Linked DNA regions of Homo sapiens: region 1 is linked to region 2. The links are contacts of gene promoters, found by promoter capture Hi-C in human tissues and cell types (Jung and others, 2019). All regions are on one chromosome and are shown on one strand. Each heading gives the region's core, a stretch centred on a gene start or on the middle of the fragment in contact. The rest is flanking DNA. Distances are from core to core; before and after follow the strand shown. Region 1 overlaps SHISA6 (shisa family member 6). Region 2 holds the start of DNAH9 (dynein axonemal heavy chain 9).

Region 1 (4,338 bases), core at 794-3,293, 330 kb after region 2:
ACTAAGGTCCAGGCTGTCCAAACCAAGGGGCAATTTGGTCTTTGGTTTGTCTTACTGTGAAACCTACAAGCTCTTTCTACATCACCTTGGCCCCTCTATAGGAGGGTGTCTTCCTGTGGAAAGAGAAGTCAGGGAAAGTCATAGAAAGTTCTCTCATTAACCTGTGCTGTCCACTACTTGGCAATCAGAAAACAGAAATCAGATCATCACACTTAAATACACTCCTCACCGAGCACGGCGGCTCACGCCTGTAATCCCAGCACTTTGGGAGGCGAAGGCGAGCAGCTCACGAGCTCAGGAGTTTGAGACTAGCCTGACCAACATGGTGAAACCCTGTCTCTATTAAAAATACAAAAATTAGCTGGGGGTGGTGATGCACACCTGTAATCCCAGCTACTCAGGAGACTGAGGCAGGAGAATCTCTTGAACCCGGGAGGTGGAGGTTGCAGTGAGCTGAGATTGCACCACTGCACTCCAGCCTGGATGACAGAGCAAGACTCTGTCTCTAAAAACATAAAAACTTACAAAATAAAAATAAATAGGTAAAATTAATTTTAACAATTAGTGCTCAACAGTCGCATGTGGCTAGGAACCAATATATTGGAGAGTGAAGACTTAAAATTGTCTCGCTTTTGTGTCAGATGCGCTTCGATTGCTTTATACCTACATTGATGTCACCTCCCACTTAAGTGACCCCTGTGTGCCTCAGTTTCCTCACAGGCCAAGCATAATTCTGGCCAGCTAATCTCACCATCTCCATAGGGCTCCAAAACCTTATGAGGCTATCATCTCAGACTCCTCCAGAACAACAGTTCTGTTTCTTTGGGGATGACTGAGAAAAGAAAAGTCCTACTTCCTGTGAGAAGCTGAGACTCACCAGAAGTTTCCCAGTTCAGCTGCACAGCCCAGGTTTTCTGGCTTCATGGGCAGCCCTAAACCTGTCCCTGGGAACAGGGACTCTCTGGGTTGCCTGGGCTTCCAAGCCACCCGTGCTTTCTTAGCAGGGTGGAAAGAACTGGAAGGGCACCCTGGGTAACAGTCCCTCTGAGCCCAGCCATGGAAGCGAAGCTCCCAGTCCCTGGCTGCGCTGACCCATGGAGTTCTGGGTCAGCCCCAGATAGGAGGAGAGGGGCCACAGGGCTCAGTAAGAAGCCTGGGCAGGCCAAGCACAGTGGTTCACGCCTGTAATCCCAGCACTTTGGGAGGCCACGGTGGGTGGGTCACGAGGTCAAGAGATCAAGACCATCCTGGCCAACATGGTGAAACTTCGTCTCTACTAAAAATGCAAAGATTAACTGGATCTGGTGGCGGGCTCCTGTAGTCCCAGCTACTTGGGAGGCTGAGGCAGGAGAATCACTTGAACCCAGGAGGTGGAGGTTGCAATGGGCTGAGATCGCGCCACTGCACTCCAGCCTGGGCGACAGGGCAAGACTCCATTAAAAAAAAAAAACAAAACAGACAAACAAAAAAAACTGGGCACCGGATACCAGGACCTTCTGGCTCAACCAGCTGGCTGGTGACCAGCCTATGGTTTATGCAAGTGACGGACACCATACTTACTTTACAGAGAGGGCTACTACATGGGATGCAGTCTTGAAGGGAGTTCTTCAGCATGCAGCAGCTGCATAACCAGCATCTGTGCTTGGATCCTACGCCCATCCAAGTAAAGGACTATGTCATCTTTCATCATTCCCTGAACAAACAGCTCTTGAGCAACTAGGATTTTCCAAGTGATGTTCTTGGTCCTAGGATACCACAATGATAGGAAGATAAAACCCTTGTGTACCTGGGGCTTAAATTCTGATGGTGACAGATAATAAACACATGAACCGACAAATGTATGATGTTAGATGATGTAAGTGCTCTGAGAAAAGTAAAGCCGGAGATGGTAACAGAGAAGGTTAGGAAAGGCCTCTCCAAAACAGTGCTGCTTGAGCAACAGATTCCACAAAACAAATACCTAGTGCTAGAAAATTTGGGGCTACAGAAACAGAAAGGGGGAAATATCTCAATGCAAGAATACAAACAGCATGAGAAGAAACAGTGTGTCTGGAGAAGACTAGTGTGTCTGCAGCCTAGGAGGGAAGCAGAAGGTAGTAGGGGTTGAGGTCAGAGAGGCGTGGGGGGATGGGAACCAGGGCATGCAGGACTGTGGCAGAGTGCTCCTCTGCCACCTGTGCAGCCTCCATTCTGGGTCTCCATGAAGCTTAGAGAGTCATGACCCTTGGCTCCCTTTGTCTGCCATTAATGGATATGGCTTTGACAACAGGCAGGATGACTGGCTGTTCTTTTATACAACTCACAGTGGTATGTAGATGGGCATGAATATTTATTGTCTCCAGATGATGTCACTCTTGATAAAGTGAAGTTGGACATCAACATTCTGTAACCTCAGCACATGATCTCATTGCTACTGCCAGGAATGGGCACCCCACTCTCCCCAGAGGCCCCAGGACAGGCTCTTTAGGAGGGGGTGAGGTCAGGCAAACATGCTGGGTCTCTCCTGCTCCCCATCTACGAAAAGCAAGCCCACAGCAAGCCTCTAAGGTGCTGGACTCAGGGAACTGCAACGCTAGGTACGGTGCATCTCTTCATGACTTCGCTTGGTCCCCTAAACAATCTTTTTATTTCTACTTGTGCCCGCTTTTGCCCAGGGGTCTCCTTTCAAAGCTCCATACTGACCTCCTCCCTCTCTCAGATAAGCCTGAGTCTTCCACTCCCTTCAGCCCCACCCATTAAGGAGAGGACTGGTTACGACAGCCACACTCACTCTGCCTAGCCAGTCTGCATCTTGCAGATCTTGATGTGAACCTACATTCAAAATCTTCAAAGAATCTTTTCCTTATTTGACAGCTTTCCTCCAGTTCCCTCAAAACTTTAAGAGCTCAGTTCTCAAAGTTTTCTGGACAGGAGAACCACGTGGAAGTTTGTTTTTGTTTGTTTCTTTTTTAATATCAATGCCAGGTCCTACTATAGACCAAGTAAATTAGAATCTTTGGGATGGGGGCAGGCATTGGTATTTTCAGAATTCCCCACACAACTCCAATGTGTGACAAGGGCTGATAATCACTGAGCTAAGAGAGGTCTTCTTCAACTTCATCATGTGTACAAATCCTCTGAGGATCTTGTTAAAATGCAGCTTCAGATTCAGTAGGTTTGAGGAAGAGCCCAAGATTCTGCATTTCTAACAAGTTCCAATGGAATGCAGTTGCTCCTGGTCCATGGACCACACTTTGGGTAGCAAGGGTCTGCAGGCAGCCAGATTTGAGGGGTAAGGGATTAAAGCAGGGTTCACTGGTTTTCTACATTCAAACCAAGTGTTCCTTATGGGGCAATCTTTAAAGTTGGAAAGCTGCTTCCTGGAAGAGTTGGGGTAAAAGGCTCTTATAGAAGGGGACAGGATTTTTCTGCTAATGTGGGATTAGAAACTTTCACATCTAAGAAATATTACAGGATCCATTCGCTATTACGCATAAAGTGCCTAGCAGAGTACCCAATACATAGTAAGTTCTCAATCTATGGTACTTGTGTTATTATTGTTTTCATTATTACTGCAGGACTCTCAACCCACATCCCAAACCAACAAAGCATGTGCTTTCAATGTCCAAAACCCTGACCAAGCTCCACAAATTCCTTTCATCCCCAGAGGATGTGCCTCAGACAGGAGCCAACCACAGGAAGGCTTGAGTCCAGGGACCTTCATCCCACACACAATCCCATGGGCCCTGCCTGGTCTAAGGACACCAATGCATTGCCTTTGGTTCTTTCATTCATTTGATTCATTTTCCATGAGCTGTGGATGTGCCTTCATAGCCTGGTCATGGCTAACAGTCAGTGTTTGCTATGTATGGGGACCTGTCTTAAGTGCTTTACTTGGTTTAACTGATTATACCATTAAAACAACTCTGACCTACAGGTATGATTGGCTTCAATAGCAGACAAAGAAACTTGGAAAGACAAAGAATCTTGCCCAAGATCACATACATAGTAAGAGACAGGGCCAAAAAGCAAACTGAGGAACATACTTCAATGCTCAAGCTTTCCCAGTGCTTCTCAAACTCTAATTGCCAAGTGATTTCACCAAATTACAGGTTCTCATTCAGCAGGAGAGGTAGAGTCTGGGATTCTGCATTTCCCACAAGCTCTCAGGTGATGCTGATGTGGCTGACCCACCAACACCATCTTGAGTAGCAAAGCTACTCATATGCTCTGATGCCTGTTGGTGTTGCTGGATATCTCCCTTAATAGCCCCCTAAAAACTTACTACCATACTCCTACAATTGATGGTTTGTTGATTTGATGAGTGGCAAAATTACAGTAAATTTCCACTTTGAACAC
Region 2 (4,739 bases), core at 876-3,375:
TAATTCAGTCACCCAGTCCCCTGTTGATGAACATTGTTTGTCTCCAATCTCTTTCAATGCACCAATGAAAATTCTTAAACATTCGAGAATTTTCATTATTTTAAAATTATTTTTCTTGCTGGACTACTTTGCTTGGCCATGACACAACTCTGAGATGGGCCTTCTGTCTCCCACATACACTAGGTTAAATCCTGTCTCTGAACCTTTGATCAGTCTGCTCTCAGTATCTTGAAAGTTACCTTGCTCTCTACTTATACAAATTCTTCTAATTGTTCAGGAGACAATTCAACACTTATGTTAAGCATGCTTCTCAGATCACAGGCCTGTCTTTCTCCTCTGAAGCCAAAAGTACTTTCTATCGTCAACATTCATTAGAGAAGCTGATCTAAGTTCAGGCTTCAGCGGGATGGCTTTCAGACAATGCACAGTTGCAAGACCATTCTGTTTGTTAAAATATTGAAATACCTCCATATCTAAGAGATCTAGCTTCCTGGGCCCTCTGTGTCCTCCTCTATCTATCCAACCCTTTCCCTGGAATTTTCACCTCCCCACAGCCTCCTGATACACCATCTAAAGGGCTTACACTTGACATAGCAGGGAGACTCCAGGACTTGCATCCAGCAGTGGGGCCAACTTTTAGGTAAGCTTTACCCTCACCCCAGTCTTAAAAGTTTGAAACATTTTGAATATATGAATTATTACATACGTTTCAGCTCCTTGGAGTAAGCATTTCATGGGTGGGAATAGTTCTTTGGTATTCCCTATAGCACCTATCACCTGAACCATCATACAGCCAGTATTCTGCCCATCCTTATTTCACAACCTGCAGGGTCCAGGGCATCAAGCCTCCATAAGCACACAGCCTGACTTGCAGGGCAGTTTACTCCCATTCCAGAAAGGTCTAAGGGGCCCAGGAATCTCTCTGGAGCACTTCCCTGAAATCTCCTGCATTCTCGAAGCTTCTGCTGTGGTGCCACTAAAGCACTCATGACCCACATCTCCACCTTCCTCCCTGAGCTTCAGGCAGACTCCTCCAAAGGCCTGCTGGGCATTTCCAAATGGGAGCCCAACTTCTTATGCTGGCACAGGGCTGACCTTTGCTAAATGGTTGGTAATGAATGAATGAGATGAAAATCAAAAGCAAATCACTACCCACCTCCCCCTCCCATTTAACTGCTCTCCAGAAGTAGGCACTGTTTATAGCCATCCACCTCCTTCCACCCCACTGATCCATCAGAAATGCCGTCTTGTCCACTTCCCATCTTCTTCAGATCTTTCCAATTTACAGGAGGGATTACGAGAGGCTGATTTTGAAAGTAGTCAGAACCTAGGCACTCTTCAGATTATGGTCTTCCCCTGACTTTGGCTGGAACCCAGACCCGGACTGACCCAAGCCTCAGCTCCTTCCCATTCTCATTCTGGCCTGGCCTCCACCCAGATCCCTCCCTCCGGACCCACCCGACTCCGCCCCTAACCCCATCCCATTTTCTTCCTGACTTCAGGAACTTCCCTCCTGGTTGTGCTCCCTCCACAGCCTCGCCCCTCTGCCTATCACTCCGCCTCTTGGACCTCCCCTGCAGCTTCGCCCCGCCCCCTCTGGCCCCGCCTCCGTCCCTTAAGGCTCCTCCTCCCCTCCCCCACCCAGCTTTAGCCGCGCGGGGACACTAACCCACCCTCACCTCCGAGAACAGCGCGGCTAGGTGCTCCAGAGGTGCCGCGGGCAGGTCCCCGCAGACCACTGCGCCGCGGAAGCTGTCGGGCCCTGGAGGCTCGGGCCCGGTGCGAAGGAAAAAAAGCGCCTTAGCGCCAGCCAGGCCCGACTCAGGTCCCACCTCCAGCCCGGGGCGTATTGCCAGGCCCCTGGGCCCGGGCCGCACCACCAGCAGCGGCCGCGGCCCCTCGGCAGCATCGCGGCCCAGGAAGGCCTGGAGCAGCTGCTCCGCCTCAGCACTCCCCGCGCAACGCTCCCAGGCGCCCGCAGCCGGCCGCAGGCTCATGGCCACGTAGGTCCCCAGGAGTCGCAGTCGTCGGTCGGCGCCGGGTTCCCCATCCGCGTTCTCCGCCGCGAGCGCGGCCCGCTCCTCCGCGAGCCGCATCGCGCGCGGCCTCCAGCTGCATCGGTTTCCCTAGCGACGGGGACGCGGCCAGGACTCACTCCTCTGCTCCCTTCCTATTGGGCACGGACCCCTGGTCCCGCCCCTTCCAGGCTAATAAGGTAGGAGGTGTACGCGGGAAGGGGCGGGGTCGCGTCGCTGTTGCTAGGACACCAGCCGAGACTCGTACTCAGTGTCTGCCTGGTGTATTGGGAGTGCTGAAGTGTGACCGTGGAGCGCAATGGCTTATTGATGGGCTGCGTGGAGAGGAGATCAAGCATATAAATGCTGTTAAGGATCGTTTTGGCCAAGGTCGAATTAGAGTCTTTAGAGGTCTCCAGACACTGAAAATAGTGTGGTCCTCTTACCTCTATCCTAAATGTGCAATCCAGACTTAAACACAATGCCAAATCATAAAACAGATTTAAGGACATTCAGTGAATTTTATTTCTTTTCCATGATGGCAAATTAAACACTTCAGAACAGTGCTGTCCAGTAGAACTTTCTGCGATGATGGAAATGTTTTCCATCTGTTCTAGCCACGCATGGCCTATAAAGGAGGTGAAATATGCTCGTCCCACTGAGGAAATTTTTAATTTTACTTAATTTTCACTTAAAATTAAATAGTCACATGTGACTGTAGTTATATCGAACAGCTCAGCTTCAAAATTTTAATATCAAGTTTTTTTAAGTTTTCTTCCGTGCCTTTCTTTGCCCATGTTTTTTAAGGCATGTGCTTAATCTTCTAAAAATGTAACCAAACTGTAAGAGGCTTGTTTTTGAGACAGAGTCTTACTCTGTTGCCCAGACTGGAGTGCAGTGGCCGGATCATAGTTCACCGCAGCCTCAAATCCCTGGGCTCAACTGATCCTCTGGTCTCAGATTCCCTAGGAGCTGGGAATACAGGCGCCACCACATCCAGCTAATTTTAAAAATTTTTTGTAGAGATGAGGTCTCGCTGTGTTGTCCAAACTGGTCTTGAAGTCCTGGACTCAACTGATCCTTCTGCCTCAGCCTCCCAAAGTGCTGGGATTATAAGGATGAGCCACCATGCTAGAGTTTTTGACTTCCATGGGTATGACCACTAATCAGTTCTTACTAAATGTAGCAAAGTACTTGTAAATATGCAGGATGCTCAGAACCTTCCCATCCTGCCCTATACCTGGATATTGGCTTCAAAAAGGGATAATATAAAGTGCCTTGCCTGACCTCAGAAATTAGCATTTGTTACCTGCTTAGTCCTTCTCCATGGTCAGGATAAACAGCTTGGCCCTTTGCATGCATGTAAGGTGACAGTGCATGGGTGCTGAAAAAATGGACAAACAACTTGGGCAGCATGAGGTCTGCAGGACTGAATGAGCTCCCCTCTGCCCTGCCATCCTCCCTTTAGTCACCTCCCAGGGACTGCTGAGTTTCTGGGTAAAAGGAATGTTTATAATGGGTTTCAAAGGAATATTAACAGAATAAGCACTTATCAATGGTAGCTTGGCTAACAAGAGCCCCTCGGGAAAACACCAGTGGTTGGGAAGTAAAATGATTGATTTCATAATAACTGGAGCAAAGGAGTTGCTGTAATAAAAAATGTTCATGTTAGAAATGAATCTTTATGTTTGTAAAGGGTGTTTCATCATTGCTGGATTAAACAATAATCAACCAACTATGAGGAAAGGGAAAAAGTGGGAAACTAAAACAATCTTTAGGATGAATTTGGTAACTGACATTTCAAGAAGAAGCATCAGGGAAAAATAGTAATGTCAGGGGCTTCTTACACATATCGTTTTTTGTTTATCTTTGCACATAGGAAGGCATCGTTATTGTTTTAGTGCTTAGGGACTTCAAATGTGTCAACTATGCTCATGTTTCGTATACAGAGTGACTTCAGGACCATTAACTTTCAGTAAACCCTTGAAATAAAATTTCTGCCACCGCACTGTGGCTCTATTATGCCGTTAATCTCCTATGTCCCCTTGCCCCAACATACATAAAAATAGGAACAAAGGAGTCTGTGAATATGACTTAAAGATTTCTGTGTAAGGTGAAGGCTCCTGAATATTAGCAATCCCAGTTTTTAATTTTCTCTCCAAAAAGATACCTTATCTGCATTTTAGAAGGTGATTGGTGGGAGGCATTGATATGGGATTATTGAAAACAACTGACATTTTAAAATATTGTATAATTATGACAAAAATATCCCCAAAATATATTAGTTATCTATCACTGTATAACAAATTACCCCCAAACTTATCAGCTTAAAATAGCAATAGACATTTATCTCACACAGTTTATGGGGGGGTCAGGAATTTAGGAGCTGCTTAGCTCGTAGTTATTGCACAAGGTTTCTCATGATGTTGCAGGCAAGATGTCATCAGGGGCTACATCATCTGAAGGCTTGACTGGGGCTGGAGGAGACACTTCCAAGATGGCTTACTCACATGGCTAGTTGGTTAGTGCTGGCTCTTGGCAGTAGACTTCAACTTCTTAGCATGTGGAGCCCCCATTGGGTATCTGAGTGTCTTTGTAATGCTGTGACTGTCTTCCCCCGGAAGAAGTGATCTAAGAGAGAGCAAGGCAGAAGCCTACAGTGTCTCTTATGACTAGCCTTGGAAATCACACACTGTCATTTCTGCAATTATCTTATTAGTTACA

Evidence for each region. Contacts are between HindIII fragments. The study calls those that stand out against the background at their distance.
Region 1: a fragment that was not itself captured here is called in contact with the fragment with the promoter of DNAH9 in region 2 in 1 of the 25 tissues and cell types used here (dorsolateral prefrontal cortex).

The regions. Positions count from the first base shown.
Region 1 is chr17:11,266,162-11,270,499 of GRCh38, reverse strand. The region is part of intron 2 of SHISA6 (shisa family member 6); the gene reads right to left. Among named protein-coding and RNA genes, the nearest start is that of SHISA6, 27 kb to the right of the region's middle. The HindIII fragment of the contact is 4,555 bases long and covers 1-4,320 here.
Region 2 is chr17:11,595,856-11,600,594 of GRCh38, reverse strand. It overlaps DNAH9 (dynein axonemal heavy chain 9), which reads right to left and starts at 2,125. Exons shown (of 69, transcript NM_001372.4): 1 at 1,680-2,125. The coding sequence starts at 2,096. The HindIII fragment of the contact is 9,113 bases long and covers 803-4,739 here.